Linked DNA regions of Homo sapiens: regions 1 and 3 are each linked to region 2. Evidence: promoter capture Hi-C in human tissues and cell types (Jung and others, 2019). All regions are on one chromosome and are shown on one strand. Each heading gives the region's core, a stretch centred on a gene start or on the middle of the fragment in contact. The rest is flanking DNA. Distances are from core to core; before and after follow the strand shown. Region 1 overlaps PTPRR (protein tyrosine phosphatase receptor type R). Region 2 holds the start of PTPRR (protein tyrosine phosphatase receptor type R). Region 3 has its middle 88 kb from the start of PTPRR.

The links. The method cuts DNA at HindIII sites, captures the fragments that hold promoters and counts their contacts. A contact is called where the count stands out against the background at its distance.
Region 1: a fragment that was not itself captured here is called in contact with the fragment with the promoter of PTPRR in region 2 in 3 of the 25 tissues and cell types used here (adrenal gland, aorta and mesenchymal stem cells).
Region 3: a fragment that was not itself captured here is called in contact with the fragment with the promoter of PTPRR in region 2 in 2 of the 25 tissues and cell types used here (mesendoderm cells and spleen).

What each region holds. Positions count from the first base shown.
Region 1 is chr12:70,813,675-70,818,155 of GRCh38, forward strand. The region is part of intron 2 of PTPRR (protein tyrosine phosphatase receptor type R); the gene reads right to left. Among named protein-coding and RNA genes, the nearest start is that of PTPRR, 100 kb to the right of the region's middle. The HindIII fragment of the contact is 7,765 bases long and covers 1-4,481 here.
Region 2 is chr12:70,918,465-70,923,014 of GRCh38, forward strand. It overlaps PTPRR (protein tyrosine phosphatase receptor type R), which reads right to left and starts at 2,274. Exons shown (of 14, transcript NM_002849.4): 1 at 1,869-2,274. The coding sequence starts at 1,926. The HindIII fragment of the contact is 3,890 bases long and covers 726-4,550 here.
Region 3 is chr12:71,006,592-71,010,877 of GRCh38, forward strand. No RefSeq gene overlaps it. Among named protein-coding and RNA genes, the nearest start is that of PTPRR, 88 kb to the left of the region's middle. The HindIII fragment of the contact is 4,797 bases long and covers 1-4,286 here.

The sequences.
Region 1 (4,481 bases), core at 1,844-4,343, 100 kb before region 2:
TGGGATGAGCGTCACCAGCACCTCAGCTTCCTGCCTGAAGAGAGGCCACACATCTCCCCAAGTTCAGAATTCAAAGAGGCCAAGGAGGCTAGAATTCTCAGGGCAGAGTACCAGAGAGCAGAGTGCTGTATGGAAAAGAGAGACCTACATAGAACGATCGCTTGCTCTACAGGGTTTTCCTGGAGTTTTCAGGTGAGTCCTGATCAGCACAAGGATGGGAGGAAGCTTCCTGAGGCAGGGGGAATAAAACCAACCAGAAAAGAACACGGGGAATAGTCCTCAGAGTTCACACAGGAATGGGGATAGTTCCTGTTTCCACCAGCCAGAGTATCAAAGCCTTATCATATACAGGGTACTGACAAGAGTATTCAGAATGACTTAGGCAAAATTAACCGTAGATCAGTGTCCATAAATTTTTTCTATAAAAGCTTATCTAATTTTAGGCTTTATAGTCTAAGAGGCAAAAGCAAATTTATTTTGTAGGTGCTTGCATAACAAGAGAGAAAACTCTTTTTCTCCCTCTTCCTCATTTGACCTAGAGGGGCAGGCTGTCCCTGTTTTGGGAATGCCTTGTCCTAATTGTCATCTGGGAATGTTCTTGGGATGAAAGTAACCAGCCTTAATTAAGGGGGAGGGCTTGCCCTTAAGATTGTGTGGGAGGGGAAGGGTGGTCACCTTGGGCGATTTTGTTCTCTGCCCAGTGACACCTAGATCCCGGTGCCCCTTTCTCTCCTCCCAGAGAGCCTGGCTGTCTTAACAGGGAAGACAAGCATCTAAAGGGAAGTTGGCTTGCTAAATTTCCCACTCCCAGATTGAGATTTCTACTGCATGTTGTTTGGCAGTTGCCAACAGGGAGGTCCCCAGCTTATAGTGGAGATCCAGCTTATAGTGGAGATCCTGAACAGCAGCAAGGCATGGCTGCTAGCAGGCTAGCAGGCTCTGGGAGTAGAGGGGGCCGGCCCGGCTTTGGCTTTGTCTCTGTGTTTCACAGTGCTTAGAGATGCCTTCAAGACATGAAAACAAACTGTAGGCTGAATGTAGGTAGCTTCTAGGCTGTAGTTTGACAACTCAGCTTTAGAGTAAACTGCTCTGGTTCCACCTAGCAAAGTTTAATGTAAGTCTCAAAAGAATTAAACTGGTTTTAAGTAACTCAATTACTTGGAAACATAATTAAAAATTTTAACAAAGCTCCAAATATTTGAAGGCATAAAAATATTTGGCACCCAACAAGGTACAATTCCCAATGTTTGGAATTCAATAAAAAGTCCCAGATATGCAAAGATTTAGGAAAATAAAACCAATAATGCAGAGAAAATAATAAAAAAAATAGAAAACAGACCAGAAATGATATAGATGATAGAATTTGTAGATAAGGGCATTAAAACAGTAATTACAACTACGCTCCATACACTTAATAAGTAGAAGAAAGTCTGAACATTCTAAGGAGAGATAAGATATCAAAAAAAAAAAAAAACCCACGTGTCACTTCTAGAAAAAAAATTGCAATGTCTAGAATAAAAAATGCAGGGGACAGGATTAACAGCTGATTAGACACTGGAGAAGAAGGGATTGGTAAGCTTGAAGACACAGCAATAGAAACTTTCCAAAATGAAACAGAAAAAAGATTGAAAAAGAATATGAACAAAGCCTCAGTTAGTTGTGGGACAAGCTTAAGTGGCCTAATAAATTGGTGGGGGGGAGTTCTTAAGTATATTTTAAGACATAATGGATGAAAAATCTATAAATTTAATAAAAGTCTTATAACCACATATGCAAGAAGTTCAATGAACCTAATGTAGAAATGTAAAGAAAACTGTAATACAGCACCTGATATACCGAACGGTTTTAAAATGTCAGAAGTCAGACTGTCATAATTGAGTTTACCGTTAATATAAGGAGGGTGAGGAAAGTAAGGATGTATGAGACTACTTGGGGGGACAGATTTAGCATCATGAAAATGGAGACTTCAAAGAGAATATAAAACTTCTGGTAGCTTCTATGTGTTAAGCATTTAGGTTGTTACTTCTGACTGAAATTATATGTTTTGAAGTTGGAAAATGATGTAAGGTCTCATTCATTGATTAACTCACTAACATTCATTTAACACACATTTGAGCTCTTATTTCTACAAAAGCACATTAGGACACATAAAAATGAAGAGCACCAACACTGGCCTCAGACAGCTGATAATCTAGTTAACTTCCAAGTGCTATGGCCTAAACAATTTTACAAGTGTTTGACAGACACATATATAGCTTTTAGCTGTTTTTTCCCTATTTCCTTGTCACATATTGCGATGAACATGAAATTACAACTAATTTAAAAGAAACACTCTTTCCTGAGTTATCTACGTCTTCTTAATGTGTGAAATCATCCTTTAGGAGGACTGAGGGAGTGGCATTGTTTACGGTAAAAATAGTTTTCCATTTAGTCACCTCTTTAATTCATTATTCTTTACCTTTAGCACAAATGTTTCCTGAAGTGTCTTATCTAAAACTTTATGACAAGCAAAAAATGTAAGAGTCACACTGTGGTGCACAAATATTTATAAACAAATATGAAATAAATGAGTACACCCCAGGAAAATGATCCTTACCTAGGAGTATATGCAAATATGAAAATGAATGCACATTCCTCAAGAAAAATATGACCTTTAAACAGGTCTATGTACTATAGTAGTAGTCACCACCATAAAACAATAACCTGGAATAGATAATGAAACATAAAATAGTTCAGCCTTGAAGATAAGTCCTGGCCCAAGGAAAGCATGGTGCAAGAACCCCAAGGATTGTTCAAGATAATTCATTGAAGTGAAAAAAAACATTCAAAATTTATTTATATTTATTTTTATTTGGCTCCTTAAAATTTTATTTTTGGTAAGTTTTATAATAAACATGTAATACTAGTATACTAGTAATACTTTTATAAATAAACCAGCACATATGCATTAGAGATATAAAATTTTTTTTAAACATATGTGGTGTGTGACCAAAAACATCCAGAAACCACAGGTCTAGACAAGTTATCTTTAAGCATTATTAGAAACAGAATCTTTTTTTAATAGAAAATCTTATGTAAAATCTCAATAACAAGAGAAAAACAGTATTTATTTAAAATATTTTAAAATAGAAACTATGTTTTTCAACTTCTAAGTTACAATGTTTGATTTTAACAAAATCATCCAGAAATTGATGAAGATGATTCGATTTTAAGTGAATGATTATGGACAGCTGTAGTATTTTATCAGCCTCAGCTTCTAGGTTTATTTCTATGAATTCTGCAATATTTATAGAATGATCACAGTCTATTAACAGGTCATCTCATCCTGTTAATGTCTCATCCTGTCTCAGTGCTATATAGATCTCCAACACTACTAGTACTGCTAAATAGATGGGTGAACAAATGAATGAATACTATTATGTGTTATACTTTTTAATTCAATAAGGTAGCAGAAGACACTTTAAGGTCACTTTAAACTATTTTAAAAAAGTAACACCTATGTTAAAGTTTGATACATGGCAGCCCACAAACACTTTAATGTGTTTTAAAAGTTTTAAAAGTTACTTAAAGAGCTTAAAATATATGAAAAATTAAGTAAAAATCAAATATTTGCAGACTTTTTCCTTTTTGTTGCTACAAAAGATAGAATAGAGAAAGATGCCAATGGATAAGGTCTGTATATTAAGTAATAGTATTGTATCAACGTTATTTTCCTTATTTTAATAATTGTTTTATGGATATAAAAGAGAATGGTCTTGTTCTTAGGAACCATACACTGAACTACTTAGAGGTAAAGAGCCATAATATCTGTAACACATTCTCAAGTAGTTAATTTTCATCTATTTTTGAGTCAAAATTCACAACTTAAACCATGTTGAATGATCTGCTCAAGAGCTAACTATTAGGTGCCACTCTACTACTTTTATACACAGTCTTGTTGAACAGGCTGAGAAAAGATTGAGAGTGATTCCAAAGGAAATGCCGGTTCAAAATGATTGTTCTGAAGAACACCAGGCTGTTGTTCAGACAGTGCCACATCCTCTAAGAAAGGAGATGTGAATACTTCACGAGATATGTTTGTCAATAAGAGATACATTTGATACAGACCCACAAGCACATGCACATATAACTTAAGATGTCACTCAGTTTATTTGACCTAAACCATTTATAGCTTTAATAGCTTTCTGAAATTATCTTTTTAAAATTAGTTTATAACTTTATTGCCTTTCTACCACATACTAGAAAGTCAATTTGGTTGGCCAGGTGCAGCGGCTCACGCCTGTAATCCCAGCAGTTTGGGAGGCCGAGGAGGTCGGATCATGAGGTCAGGAGCTCGAAACCAGCCTGACCAACATGGTGAAACCCCATCTCTACTAAAAATACAAAAATTAGCCGGATGTGGTGGTGCCTGCCTGTAATCCTAGCTACTCAGGAGGCTGAGGCAGGAGAATCTCCTGAACCCAGGATTGAGGCAGTTCAAG
Region 2 (4,550 bases), core at 1,024-3,523:
TAGAGATGGATTGGATTGGCTTTGGTAATATACCCTTTGGCAGAACTCCAGGTAAAATCTAGGGCTACAGGCTTCTAGGTTTCTCATCTGATGAGCAAAAGTCCTCATTTTTCTCATCCCGAATATTCATCTACAGTAAATCAAGACATGTTTTTCACATGCTTCAGTTTATTTATAACTTTTAAGATATAATTACTCAAGATGTATCAAATGTGATCTTTAAACTTTTTTATATGTTAGTTTTGAAAAAATGACTACACTGATATTGTTGGCAGACCAGCTAAATCATTGCTACCTTAGTAAGAATTGAGATTTTTCTGTAATGAATGTTTGTGTCAGTCTATTATTAAGCAATACTATAAATAAAACTCAACCCAATGTGTATGTTTTCATCCCACATTTCAGCATTGAAGAATTGTATGTGGTAACGAAATAATTCACTACAGCTGTTTGCAAATAATTTAATAATCAAGTCATAGCTATTTTCTACTTCTCAAAATGTGCCAAAGAACTATTGAAAACTCCACAATATAACATCATAATTATAACAATTAACATGTGTATTTAATAATAGCTTTAATAATCCTATGCATTATTTGCTCAAAAGATTCATGATACATTTAAATAATAGCGTTAGCTGGAATAAGAAAGTACCATATTTCACTCCTACTATTGTACACAGAGAATAAAATTCACCCACTCTTTTAAAAAAGATACTGCAAGGATTGTAATTTCAGAACAATTATTTTTACTCATTACCCCTAGAACATAGTATACACTCAGCAAATGTTGCTTGAAGGAATGAATGGATATGTGTGATTGGATGAGAAGCACACTCAGGGAAAATGCCTCGTCTCTGGTTGTTACAGGACTACTGCATGGACAACTGCTGTCACAGTAGGGTTTCTAAAATCTCCCTGCCATATTTTATTTTGGTTCATGTGTGTGTGACAATGATAAGGAATTCAGCCTAGCAAGTCTGTCTGCATTAAATAGAGGTGCTATGTATGCAAAAAGCAGGGACACCACATATAATATCTCTCAGGTACTTCCCAAGGTTTGCTTCCTCACGAGACTTGATATTGATTCTGGTGCCTCAAATCTATTTATATTTGGGAGCAGTCTCACTGTTACTCTTGGTTACACCTTATCAAATCTGTCCGAGGGACAGTGCCTAACCCAGGGTTGTCAGCTTTGGAACTGTAATTGTTTTTTTTTTTTTTTTTTTTTTTTTTTTTTTTAATATGCCAGCGGACGCTAGCCACGGTGCTGAAAGAGACAAGAGGATTCTATTTGAAACCTTTTCTTCCTCTTATTGGCTTAGAAAATTCGAGTGACAAGAGCAGGGGCCAAAGGAGCCTGGTGCAGCATCACTAATGTGAACCATGTATTTCGATCTTTTGGGCGGAGATGTGGTCCATCAGGTTACAGCCAATGCCTTCCTATGAGCGCTCGCTAGACCAAGAGACCTTATGAATGTAGTAGCCGCTGCAGTAGAAAAGGTTACATCTAGCAGGATGTCTTATCCCTCTCCTGAAAAATTGACAGTTAAGTGCATAGCCTAGAAACAAGAGCAGGGAATCTAGACGGAGGGGAGGCGAAGGGGGGAGCAAACCTGTATTCATATTGAAAATGTTCACTATTTTCGTATAAAGTAAAGAAAAATCAAGAGCTAATTTTAGGTTAAGTTTTCGGCCTCAGTTTTCCAACAGGTGCACGACTCCCTCACCCCTTCCCTGTCAGGTACTGTCCTGTTTTACCTTTTTAGAAAGGCTTTCTTCGCAAGGCAAGCTTTTCCTAGAGTCCTTAAGCATGTGCAGTTTCCCATCTCATGCACAGCTCCGGCTCTAAGCCTGGCAACCCCTTACCTGCAGCGTGAAGATTAAGGAGCAGGCACAGCGCAGGGAAGCAGACTGCTCTCCGCATAGTGTTTGCATTGAGAGGTGGAGGAGAAACTCCACCACGACCCCACTTCAGGTAAAGTGCTATTAGAAAGAGCCACCGCCAAGGGTCTTCTAGTCTCCGGGATTCAGGTCCTCGGCTGGGGTTTGCAGAGCAGTCAGTCTGTGGCGCCGACAGAAACCAGCACCAGCTTCAACCTCCCTAAGAGAGGGAGAGAGGAAGAGCAGTAGGAGGTTGCGGGTAAGGGGAACAGAAGCGCTCAGAGGCGGCAAATGCCTGGCCTTCTGGACGCCCAGAAGCCAAGGCGGAGACGGCAGGGTGGACTCCGCGCCAGCCCAGCAGCCCAGCAGCAGCGCCGCGGCTACTGAGCATGCCCAGCGCCGGCCCTCACGAGGCAAGGGAATTTCAAAGTGAAATTCCGCTTCTCCGGGTCTTAGCGGCGGCTTGGAGCAGAGTAGGCTCCATCGCTGGGGTGGTGGTTGGGGGTGGGGGTGGGGGTGGGGAAGGGGGAAGTGCGGGGGAGACACTTGCTGTGGTTACTAGGGACCCAGCGTCCATCACAAATCCGAAGGTGGGGTGTAGCTGAGTGAGAGTAGATGGGGGCACGACCACAGGAGTCAGAGGAGGGAGCTGATGACATTGTCAACCATGCCACCCACCCTACTCTTTCCCCAAATCTTGATTTACACGTGGACCGAGCTCACTGCTGGGAATTGGCATTTGCAGATTGACCAGCTTCCCAGGACTCGCCTACAGGAATAGAGGTGTCTTCCACTGCTGAGCATTCTGGCTGCTCGGGGGAAGCGTTCCCAAGGCAGCTTGCTTGGTGTAAGCAGTAACCATGTATCTTGGGGGTGACTTCGTCCTTCCTACAGCTTCCCCCTCTTTGCTTCTCTTTCCACTCTTTCCAGCTCAATGACTGTATTTAAACTTTCTTCTGACTCAAGTCCTCACAGTGACAGAAAGAAGTGAGAAGATACTTTTAGACTAGTAGAATATATCCATGTAATTGAAGCACAAGAAGGCACCTTTTTGTTTCGTGGAGGTAATTAACTTTAGTTTCCCTTTTACTCTTTAAGGTGAAAGATAATGGATCACGTCAGTGCCTGGACTCATCCGGCCCAGCTCTGTGTCTCTAGGGAGGCTACCACAGTCTGCCATTAGATGGTTTTTTATCCCTCCATCTAAGTCTTTGGAGTGTGGAAAGCCTTATTAGTCATGGCTAATTGCTGCTAGTCAAGTCAAGAAGTCCCTCAGCTAGACTTCTCTTTTAACTATCCCAGGGCCTCTGCCCTTTCTGCCTCTGTGTCTTTATGGACACTGTTGCCTCTTTCCCATTTTCCTCCACTTGCACCACCACCACACTAGTTTTCGAAGGTGTAATGTTGGTCTCACTTTTCCAGAAAGCCCTAACTCTAACTAACTCTAGATTACAGTGATCTTTCTCTTCCACAACACTTGTTTAGCCGTGCCTCATATTATTCTTTCAGACAGTTCATTTATCTGTGGTTTGTTCTACAGCACATTGAAGTCTCCATAAGAACTGCTGAGTTTTGTATTCCATTAACTTGAATAAAGTTGTCCTAGCCAAATAATTGGGGCTAACAAGTGCCCATTGAGTTGAGCTGCACATCTCATTCAGTGCTTTCTTTCTCCATCCTCTGTGAATTGAGACAACTAATGGGAAATAGGCTATCCACCAGAGCTTAAATTAGGTGGGACCTTATAAGATCAGAGAGCCCAGGCGGTACCATTTATTTCTTTTATGATTTATGTCATCTTCAGCTCTGAGAGACAAGGCCAGGAAGCACTCCAACAAGTGGGAGAAGGGGACAATGAGATGTACTTTTAATATCTTGACAGGCCTTCTCTGCTGAAAATAGAGACATATCTCCATGTCTAGCCCCTCTCTAGCAACGTGCTCCACCCCCTACTCCCCCATGCGTGTGGCACACTCCATTTCTGTGGCACTATCATTTCATCCCAAACCACTCTAAGCTGCAACCTCTTCTCCTATTCCTGATTCACTGTCCTCCAGTTTGCTTTTCCCGTATCACTTTCTAACAAACCAAAATAATTACTTATAAAATCTATTGTTTAGTATCTATTTCCCTACTCCCCCCCGCAAAACAGAATTTGAGCTCCAATGTTGAAGAACTTTGATGACTTTATTGATATGTCCCAACTCCCTAGAGCAATGCCTCATGCAAAATAGATACTCAAAAATGAATAAATGAAAATGATAGTTGACAAAGTTCAATACTGACAATTAACTCTTTGAAATTCTTACTGAGTCAACCTTTGAGATAATTTATTTAGCATTCTGTAAAGCTTAGAAGAATAACTCTTCTCATCTAACATCTGTTACTAGAAATGCTGCAGGGCTGGAGGTTAGGGAAAAATAATTGTATCCCACTTACAATAGGTCTATTTTTCTTATTTTCTTGTTTCCTAAAATAACTAATTATCAAACTTACATAGATCTCCAAGAATAAAATATACTTACTTATGGTAATGAAACAATGCTGCAGTAATGTTCTGAACCCCTTCCTTTTCCACAGATAATTCCAACATTTATTGGTGGGGCATTTAAAATTCCCATTATTATAATTGACTATGACTTTGCCAAAAAGCATCCTGCTGGCAAT
Region 3 (4,286 bases), core at 647-3,146, 88 kb after region 2:
AGTGGTGCGATCTTGGCTCACTGCAAGCTCTGCCTCCCGGGTTCATGCCATTCTCCTGCCTCAGCCTCCTGAGTAGCTGGGACTACAGGCGCTCACCACCATGCCCAGCTTATTTTTTTGTTTTTTAGTAGAGATGCGGTTTCACTGTGTTAGCCAGGATGGTCTCAATCTCCTGACCTCGTGATCCACCCGCCTCGGCCTCCCAAAGTGCTGGGATTACAGGTGTGAGCCATTGCGCCCAGCCAAAGATGTGATTTTATAAAATCTACTGGGAAGACAGATTAAAAAAAAAAAAAAAAAAAAAAAAAAAAAAAAAAAAAAACAAGGAAACAAACAAATACAAGGACACATAATAATGAAGATTAAAAGCAAAGTAGAAATGGAATTTAAAGTGTAGAACTTGTGGTCATCAACACCTTTCTAAGGAGGTGACACGTAAACCACTGGAGAGCTTCCCTTCAGGGAAAACAGCAGGCACCAGGTTTCTGAGTGAGGAAGTGCTTAGTTCCTTGTGAGAAATGACAGAAGCCCAGACTGAGTTGGTTAATTTTATTAAATGAGGATGGAGAGATAAGCAATGGCCAGGACCTACAGGGCTTTCTTATTGTTTTTTAATCACTTTAGTTCCTATGAATTGGAATGGGACGATGGTGTCTGGAGGGGAAGTATGAGAAGCAGATAAAAGTTTGTGGCAATAGTTCAGGAGAGATAACAGTTTCTTGGATGAGGGTGATGGCAGTAGCAATGGATAAATGTGGATAGATTTTTAGATATACATTGGAGTAGAATCAGCGGGAGTTGCTGATAGACTGGCAAATACCATTATAACAGCACTAATGCCTTATACTTAATTCAATTGCTTATATTTCTATCTACCCTATTAGACTGTATAGTTTTGACAGCAGGGATTATCAGAATCATCTTTTTAATTTCTACCACTTAGCATAAAGCTCAGTAATCAGTTGTTGAAATACATATGTCTACACACACATACATATGTTTGTATATATGTATATATCTTACTTTGCATCATACAGTTTATAAGATCCAGGTAAGCCAGATGCATAATCATAAAACTGAGAAGAGATGATCCAGTTAACTCTGGGTTGACTGTAGCCATATGCTGAAATAAATGTGTTCAGTTTCTAAATGAATAACTCTTACATTCACAAGCAATAGATAATCACCTGAAATGAGACAATTTTATTTTTGGGGAAGGGAGGGAGATCAAATGTGTCTGATATTAGAAACATTAGTCATTGCTCAAGTACTTTTCATTTCCCACAAGTGATGGTTTGTATTACGTAGACTTTAATTCAGCCTCTCTTTGGGTGGTCCCTTTTTAAAGGGGCTCCTTATGGTTTGTTCATCCTGTTGATACTCTCTTCTCATCAAAGCAGAGTAAGTGTTGCAGGGTTGATGTTAATAGAATCTGCAGTGAGATCTTAGCTGGAGAACACAAAACCACATTAACTGATATTTCCTCTTACATAGTGTGTAGATGATCTCTAATGATCAGGAGTGTTTAAGACCATGATGCTCTTGCATACATTCTACATGTGACCTTAGAATAGTCTCTAGGTTTTTGTTGTGATTCCTCATAAGCCAGAAAGATGGCAAAGCCTTAAAATGTGGGATAATGAATCACTGAGTACAGAAGTGAACTGTTTAGAGGTCTCCTCCTGGGTTTAATTATTTCATTTAAGGAAGAAGTCACAGCGTCAGCTCACAGTCCAGATCTAGTCTGCTGTTTGTTTCTAAAAAATACTTGAACAACAATGGAATATTTAAAAATATAAGAGATCATCTAAAAAATCCTGGATCTTGTGTTTCTTTTGAAATTAAAGAATGGAATCTCTAACAATGTTGGGCCTGTGTGGATTCTGCTTGGGAGCTGAGAAAAGTCTCCTTTTGTAAGAGTGTGCTGCCTGTTTACTACAGCACCCCCAGGCCCACTTTACTCATTTCCATCTTTTGCTTGGTACTTGTGTGCTTTTGTGTTTGCAACCCCTGGGCTAGGGTCACTGTAACCATTAGGAGCTACTGAGGCTTGGAAAATACTCTAGGGCACCCCAGGATTGTGGGTGAAAGACAGCGGGCCCCGCACACAGCCTGAGCCAGAACACAGGGCATCAAGGTTTTCAACTTCCCCAAAAGCATGCTTCTCATTTTTCTCAGTTGTTTCAAGTTGGGAAGCTGTGTGTACCTCTCTCTAGAGATGCCACATAAGAAGCTAAGTTGTGTGCAGTTCAGTTTACACTGCAACTGAAACTTGGCTTCTAGCTTCTTGTTGACAATGTGCTCATATAGGCAAAAAGCTTTCCTTAATACATTTTGTAATACAATTCAGAAACATTAAAAAATAAGTGTTTATCCACTTTTTATAGATCCTGGAGTCTGTATGTTTTCTGAATAGGTAAAATAGTCTCGTGTGAAGACAAGAATTTTGATGAGAAAATTTTCCAAGGGAATCCCTCTACTTAAAATTTTCAGGGCCTTCCCTGACCAGATATCTAAATAAATTCAACACTGAGTAATTTGAGAAAATGTATTCTAGGGTCAATATAGAAGAAGATTTTATTATAAAAGATTAGCACCCTTTGATTTAATTGAAACCTCCTAAGGAATTCAAAGTGCTTTATGGATTACATCTCATTTCCATACCATCCAACAAACTAAATGATCTCTAGTTTAAATGATTCTCAGAGTGAAAGTTAAGAATTGTCATCACAGCTATGTAAAGGCTTTACTTTTATAAGGCTAAAATTATGTAAATAATGATTTAAGTAACATTTTAAATTAGAGGATATTTTTTCTGGGGGATGGCAGATGCCCATTTCTCACCTTCCCCATCTTTTCTCATGCTTTCCCAGTGTGGAAAATAAAGCAGACAGATAGACTGACAGATACACAGACCGTCAGGCGGAGAGAAAGTGACCGTGAACAATAAATGATTAGATAGATAGGTAGGTAGGTAGAGAACAAAACGAGGAAAAAGAGGAACAGAGGGGGAGTTGCGGGGGAGAGATGTTATCAGAGGAAACAGATAAGACTAATGTTTTCTCTAGACCTTCCAAAACGCAGTCAAGAAGAAACAAGAAATGCAAGCCAACAAGCTCCTTTCTTCCTATGTCCTGGTATCATAGCAGGTTTTGAATACTAGTTTTCTGGGTTGTCAAGTTTCAATTCCACTCTCTTAATAAGGCAGAGTGATTACATGGATACATTTAAGGCATTAAAGACCTCCTAATCCTCCCCACCTATATTATTTAGCCAGAACTGTTAATAGGAACAGAATTAACTAATTTTGGCTTTATTCCTATTCCTACCCTGTCCTGATTAAATCTCAATCTGTGCCAATTAGGTCAGTTACTTAAAACCAGATGTGAAAGCATTCAAACTTGAGATTTGTCCTTCATAGGGTAGATATGTCAGACCTGGCTTTCATAGAAAAGTTCAATTTATCCAGATAACCTTTCTTCAGTCATATAGAAGGACTATTTTTCAGCCAAAGATAAAAAAGTAGCTGCCATCTTTTACTTGGATCTCCAAATGATTAATGCTTGAAACTAATAAAACCCAAATGATAGGTTCTATCTTTATACATCTCCATGAAGGAAACTGTACTCAGTCCACACACTGATCACTCAGCCTGTGTGATCATACATATGGTAGGATATCACTGACAGCCCCAGACAGATCACAGGGAGCCAATTTACATGGTGGGTGGTACCCTAGGCTGGGCATGGCACTAGGGGTTTCCTGCCTTAGATGGGCAGCACTCCCAGAGAGCCAAGTCATGTGAGGGTTGATGGCTAATGATGGGGCAGTGACTCACAGCACCACTATGGTGGACAAGGAACTGAGAGGGAACCATTCGCTCTTGAGAGGAGCACCCCCTTTCTCCATCTGGTTCCTGGGCAAAGATGTTGTTGTGAGTTGAGCATCAGAAAGAAGAGGATGCTTGTTAAACAAGCAAATAAGCAGACAGCATTCCAATAATTCACAAACTATATACAGGGTCACAAGCTGTATCCCAAGCTGTGGGCCAACTGTGTCTTAGAACTCAAAATTGTATGTATTTTAGAAAGTATTAAAGTGTATATACTGCATATTATATATCTCCCCACCAGGGCCTGAAGCGCTATTCTGTGATCAAACACAACAGTATTTCTGCAGCAAAATATGTGAATATTCACACTACGTGCATTAAATAAACAATGTACATTTTAGGGAATTCTTCAAGACTCTGTCAGATTAGGTCTGTTTTTACCTAAAGAAAAGAA